2 separate regions of the Homo sapiens genome follow, and region 2 is linked to region 1. The links are contacts of gene promoters, found by promoter capture Hi-C in human tissues and cell types (Jung and others, 2019). All regions are on one chromosome and are shown on one strand. Each heading gives the region's core, a stretch centred on a gene start or on the middle of the fragment in contact. The rest is flanking DNA. Distances are from core to core; before and after follow the strand shown. Region 1 holds the start of CRYGN (crystallin gamma N). Region 2 has its middle 13 kb from the start of NUB1.

Region 1 (3,051 bases), core at 226-2,725:
AAGCCTGACTTCAGCTGTCACCTGACTCCAAATTGCAAAACCCACCTCCAGTCATAGAGATACAAGAAAATCAGCAATTTTATCCTGAAAACATGAATGCAGTGGGTTGTGTCTGCTTGGCTACAGAAGAGTGAGATCTCTCTCCATCTTTGCGATCTCTTAGGGGAGAGATCGTGATGCAGATCGCATTCCAGTTTAAAGTTTATTCAATAATAAAATTGTTTTTTTTTCCTTCTACCTTCGTGGAGAAGTTTTCTGGGTTGGCTGGAGATTTTGTTTTTAATTTTATGTCCCCACCAGGGCCCAGGTCCAGAGAGAAACATTGGAATGTGTGGCTTGGCAAGTAAGGGCGCCAGTGGAGGCAGCTGGGCGGCGTCCCTAGGGAGGGGCGTCCCTAGGGAGGACCGTCCCTGGGTTCAAGGGTGACATGCAGGTTCTGGTTTGTACCCTGTCTACTTTTGAAAACCTCCCACAGCAGAGGCAAGGTCACCCCTCTGCCCCAAGAATCACATAACCTCCTCTTCCTGGGCCTCAGTGTCTCATCTGTGAAATGGTCATAAAAATATACTGTTTGAAGGAAGAGCAGCCCAAACTCCTCCCCAAAGCTCCTCCCTCCCCTCCAGCAGAAGCCCCTGTGGAGCACCTGCCCCTCTCTCCTTTGATCTCAGAGCCTGTCCCCCACCACCCCAGCCATCTGAGTCATGAGTCCTGTGTTCCCAGCTCATCTCCCCAGCCGTGTGGGGGCTGCACATCCTGTGGGCTCCATGTTCGCTCTGCTCACTCCACAATCTCTGAGCCTCTGCTGTCTGCCAAGTGCTCGTTCTGGGCCCTGGGGAACTCTCCCTCCGCGGTGGGGCTGCTTTGTGCTGTAAACTGATCCTGGGCGTCCAGGGTGGCTTAGTTGGTGCAGCAGAGAGGCAAGGGGCAGAGCACTGTACCCCCAGCTCAGGGCAGCGCGGGTCACCTGGTCACCCTAGGCAGGATCTTCAAGGAGAGAGGGACCCAGGGAGGGAGAGTGCCAGGGAGGGAGGCAGGCAGGAAGAGAGCGGGAGGAGGGAGGCCTGACCTGGCCTGGCGTTTTGTGGGGTGTGGGGGGGTGCATCAGGAGCTGGGTGAGTTGGAGCCGGAGGTCTAAGGTGGGGACCTGGGAGCTCAGACCAGAGCAGCCAGGGGAGGGGCGGTCAAGGGCTGTCTGTCTGTCCGGGGAAGCTTGGGTTGCATCCTCGTGGAGACAAACAAGTTGGCACCAAGGCGAGACTACCTGCAGCCAGGTGAGAAAGGGGAGTGGGCTGGGGAGCTCGGAACAGGCCTTGGGAGGGAGGGAGATGGGCGTGAGGGCTGAGGGGCAGCGCAGGGGAAGAAAGGTTGGAGGGCTAGAGAGACACCTCCCCTCCTCCCCCCACCACTCCAGGGCAGGGCAGGGGCAGCCGCGGGCTGGGCGGGAGGGCTCAGGGAGGAAGGAGGCTCGGGAGCTAAACGCGGAGAGCACAGGGAGACCCCGGGCAGGGCGGGCTGCACTCGCGGTGGCACAGGGTGGCCGCGGCGGGTCCCAACCGCCTGGTGGCCCCTCGGGCTTAGCACGCCCGACAGCACTAACGCTCCGGGGCCGGCCCAGCAAATCTTTTGTCCGGGGCGGCGCTGAGCCAGCAGGGCGCTGCCCGGTGTAAACGGGGACCCGCGGAAGGGGCGGGGCGCACCATGGCGCAGCGCTCGGGGAAGGTGAGTGCGTCCCTCAACCCCAAGGAAACCGAGTGGGGCTCCGCCTTCGCCCCCTGTGCTAGGGGATGCAGGAGGGTGCACACTGTTGATGGTGACAAATCCAAGGGAAGCTGGTTTAATTTCTTAATAAAATGGGGTGGCCTCGCTACTGGCCTGGGGCCTCTCTGGTGTGGATGGATAGGAAGGTCTCCATCTCCACTCCTTCCTTCTGGGATTCCAACCCCTCGCCCTGCAGTCAGGAGCAGGGAGGGTGTTCAGACTCCCTGGGGCTTCCTTGGGGTGGGGGAGGCTTGGCTTGTCCCACAGCCCTCCGCCCCACTGCTGCGGCTTCTTTGCCCAAGGCTGGCCTCTATGGCTTTTCCTTCCCAGGGTCTCTTCAGGGACACTTAGGGCTGGTTCTCTGAAAAATGTTGAGATTTGAGGGAGCCCCGAATCCCTTTGGTGCCCAGACCTCCCTGAAGGTTTCAGGGGCCCTCTACCAGCCGTGCCTGGTGCAGGAAGGACGGGAGACCTGGCTCTCCCTCGCCCTCTCCAGTGCCCCTAGCCTAGCCACTCCCATGAAGCCTTTGGTCTCCAAGGCCACATTCCAGAGTGTCTGGGGGTGACTGTGTTGCTGTATCAGTCTGCATGGGCCAGGTGATGCTTCAGTAACAAAGGGCCCCAGTAACTCTGGGGTGCAGAACGCCAAGGTGTCTGCCTCCTTTCCGGTGAACGCATGTGGCCACGCCTGACTCCAAGGGGCCTGGAAGGGCAATTCTCGTGTTCTTTTGAGCGAACTGGAGACACTGGTGAGGCACAAGCGACCATAGTGATGGGGAACATCACTGCACTCTGGCAGGACCCTTCTAGGGCCACAGTTCTTGAAACCCAAAGAGTTACTAAATGGTTGAGATTTTAGGTTCCACAGCAGGAAATGAGTCTGGCGGGTTGTTATTGCTTCACTTTGTTTTGTTTCGGGACAAGGACAACCTGTGAGTGCCACGTAGCTATAAGACACGATGTCTGAACTCCCAGCAGGGTGATGGAGCTCCAGATCTGATACATGCCTGCTACCCAAAGGAGTGACCTACAAAACACAGAGAGACAGGGTGGCACTTATAAGCCCTCTTTTGCGAACATTAATCCCGAGCCAGGCCCTGACGCGGCTTCGGCCCATTCAGCCTCTCCAGTGAAGGAGGCCCAATCCCAGGAACCCGAATTTCTGCAAAATATATGCTGGGTTACCATGAGAGGGTTGTGGGTGAAATTTCTTCTTTTGAAAACACCTCCTTTAATGTTATTATCGGCTTTATGTTTTAATAATTAAAAAATGAGTTAAAAATGCAGTGGAAG
Region 2 (3,051 bases), core at 386-2,885, 110 kb after region 1:
CACCTGTGCAAGCTTCCAGCTTACTTGTCTATGTCTGCAGCTCAATTTTCCAGGCCGCTCTTTGTTAGAAAAGAAAATGATTTTAGGGCTGTTTTTCATTAAAAGGAAAACCTTACTGAGGACTCCCATACCCTCACTATCTGCCTGAATAATGTCTTCTTAACTCCCCTATCAGTGGTTTCATTTTTTACACTACAATCTTTGATTCATCTGGAATTCATCCTGGTGAACTGTGTGAGATATGGATCAAACTTTGCTTTTACCCAGATAGTTATTCAGTTGTCTCTCTGCTATTTGCTGCTGTAGTTGTTTTGAGAAAGAATCTCACTCTGTTGCCCAGACAAGAGTGCAGTGGCACAATCATAGCTCACTGCAACCTCTGCCTGCTGGGCTTAAGCAATCCTTCTATTTCAGCCTCCTGAGTAGCTGGGACTATAGGTGTATACCACCACACCTGGCTTTTTTTTTTTTTTTTTTTTTTTTTTTTGAGATGGAGTCTCACTCTGTCACCCAGGCTGGAGTGCAGTGGTGTGATCTCGGCTCACTGCAACCTCTGCCTTCCGAGTTCAAGCGATTCTCGTGCTTCAGCCTCCTGAGTATCTGGGACTACAGGCATGCCTGACCGTGCCTGGCTAATTTTTGTATTTTTAGTAGAGATGAGGTTTCACCATGTTGGCCAGGCTGGTTTCAAACTCCTGACCTCAAGTGATCCACCCGCCTCAGCCTCCCAAAGTGCTGGGATTACAGGTGTGAGTCACCACTCCCAGCTGATTTTTGTATTTTTTGTAGAGATGGGGTTTCACCATGGTGCCCAGACTGGTCTCAAACTCATAAGCTCAAGTCATCTTCCCACTTTGGCCTCCCAAAGTGCTGGGATTACAAGCATGAGCCACTGCACCCAGCCTACACTCTTTATCAAATAGACCAACTTTTCTCCATTGATTTAAGATGCCACCTTTATCATATACCAAATGTCCTGCATGCATCATAACCCTCCCTATCCCAGGATTAAGAATGAATGCAAATTGTTCCATTAGAAAAAGTGAAGGCTGGGTGTGGTGGATCACACCTGTAATCCCAGCACTTTGGGAGGCCAAGGCTGGCAGATCACTGAGGTCAGGAGTTTGAGACCAGTCTAGCCAACATGGTGAAACCCCATCTCTACTAAAAATACAAAAATTAGCCAGGCATGGTGGCATGCTCCTGTAATCCTAGCTACTCAGGAGGCTGAGGCAGGAGAACCGCTTGAACCCAGGAGACAGAGGTTGCAGTGAGCCGAGATCACGCCACTGCACTCCAGCCTGGGCAACAGAAGGAGACTCTGTCTCAAAACAATAAATAAATAAAAATAGAAACAAAAACTTACAAGTCCATAAAACAGTGATTACCCTTATTACATGCAGTACACTCTGATTATTTTTATTCAATTACATCTTCTTTAAAAAATGCTACTTGACAACTGTCTTAGTCTGTTTACCACAGACTAGATAATTTATAACATACCATAGAGTGGGTAATTTGTAGAGAAAAGAGATTGATTTGGTTCATGTTTCTAGAGCCTAAGAAGTCTAAGAAATACCACCAGCATCTTCTCGGCACCTGGCAAGGGCCTTCATGCTGTGTCGTCCCATGACGGAGGGTGGAAGGGCAAGTGAGTGCGAGAGAGAAGGAGTGGGCTGAACTCACTCTTATAACAACCTACTCTTGCAATAACAAACCCACTCCCGCAACAATGACGTTAACTCATTGATGAGAGTAGAGCCCTCGTGGCCTAATCACCTGGTAACAGTCCCACTCTCTATATTGTTACAATGGCAATGGCATTTCAACACGAGTTTTGGAGGGGTCATTTAACCATAGTAAGAACCACCCCACCGATTTCAAGTCTGCGAGTAAATGGTTAACGCAACCCTTTCTCCTTCTGCATAAGAATGTAACCATTGTTTAACTTTCTAGACCTTTCCTTTTGAAACCTGATGAAGGTAGAATGTGAGCTTTGTTATTAAGGGACATTGTTTATGATTCAATAACCCCTGGCTGATAAATTGCACCTGGGCTAGGAGGAACTATAAGTATATTATAGAGACCTAATGGGGACTCCACACATCAGATGTCCCTGCATGTACTAACTTTTACAATTAAGTATGTACTGCGCAGATACTAGGAAGCTATGGTATTCTTACAAGAGCTATGCCTGTGTAGGTCATGAGACTTCCAAGTCAGGACGGCTCTTGAACCCATCTGATGTGAGTCTCATTTCCTTGAACCTGTGCCACATCACCTGGGGTGCAGGATACAGGAGAACACCTGGAGGACAGTGTGGATGTCTCCATAGACTGCTGTAATGATTGCTACTGTGGAAGAATACTCCACACTGCCCTGTGGTCTGTTTCAGGAAATTTGGGCTGCTATAACAAAAATACCTTAAACTGAGGAATTTATAAACAACAGGAACATATTTATCACAGTTCTGGAAGCTGAGAAGTATAAGATCAAGGCATTGGCAGATTTGTTGTCTGGTGAGGGCCCACTTCCTAATTCACAGATCGCGTCTTCTCTCTGAGTCTTCATGTGATGGAAGGGGTGAGAGGTCTCTCTGTGGCCTCTTTTATAAGGGCACTAATCGCATTCATGAGAGCTCTGCCTAGTCTCTCCCAAAGGCCCTACCTCCCAGCATCATCACCTTGGGGGTTAGGCTTCAACATATGAATTTTGGGAGAACTCAAACATTCAGACCATGTCACTGTCCCATATCCTTCTACGTGAATTTAATGCCATATATGGCTATGACAGTCTTGTGAGTCAGACTGTTTAGCTGACCCACTTGTTAACATCAGAAGACACCTTGGAGGATGTCCAAAGCCTAATAGTCCATGACCTATGGTTAGAAAAACACTGTCTGGCTAAATGTGTATATATGAGGGGCCTACAAAAAGTTCATGGACAATGTATTATTACAAAAAAAGCTATACATAAATTTCAAAAATTTTTTGCACCAAAATAAACTTGCACTAACTTGTTATAACATATCTGAACAGGATCTAGTTTGAG

Evidence for each region. The method cuts DNA at HindIII sites, captures the fragments that hold promoters and counts their contacts. A contact is called where the count stands out against the background at its distance.
Region 2: a contact is called between a fragment that was not itself captured here and the fragment with the promoter of CRYGN in region 1, in 4 of the 25 tissues and cell types used here (IMR-90 fibroblasts, liver, lymphoblastoid cells and 1 more).

Annotation. Positions count from the first base shown.
Region 1 is chr7:151,438,565-151,441,615 of GRCh38, reverse strand. CRYGN (crystallin gamma N) reads left to right here and starts at 1,475. Exons shown (of 4, transcript NM_144727.3): 1 at 1,475-1,719. The coding sequence starts at 1,699. RefSeq lists enhancers at 447-983, 1,695-2,195, 2,196-2,696. The HindIII fragment of the contact is 10,973 bases long and covers 1-3,051 here.
Region 2 is chr7:151,327,612-151,330,662 of GRCh38, reverse strand. No RefSeq gene overlaps it. Among named protein-coding and RNA genes, the nearest start is that of NUB1, 13 kb to the left of the region's middle. The HindIII fragment of the contact is 5,924 bases long and covers 1-3,051 here.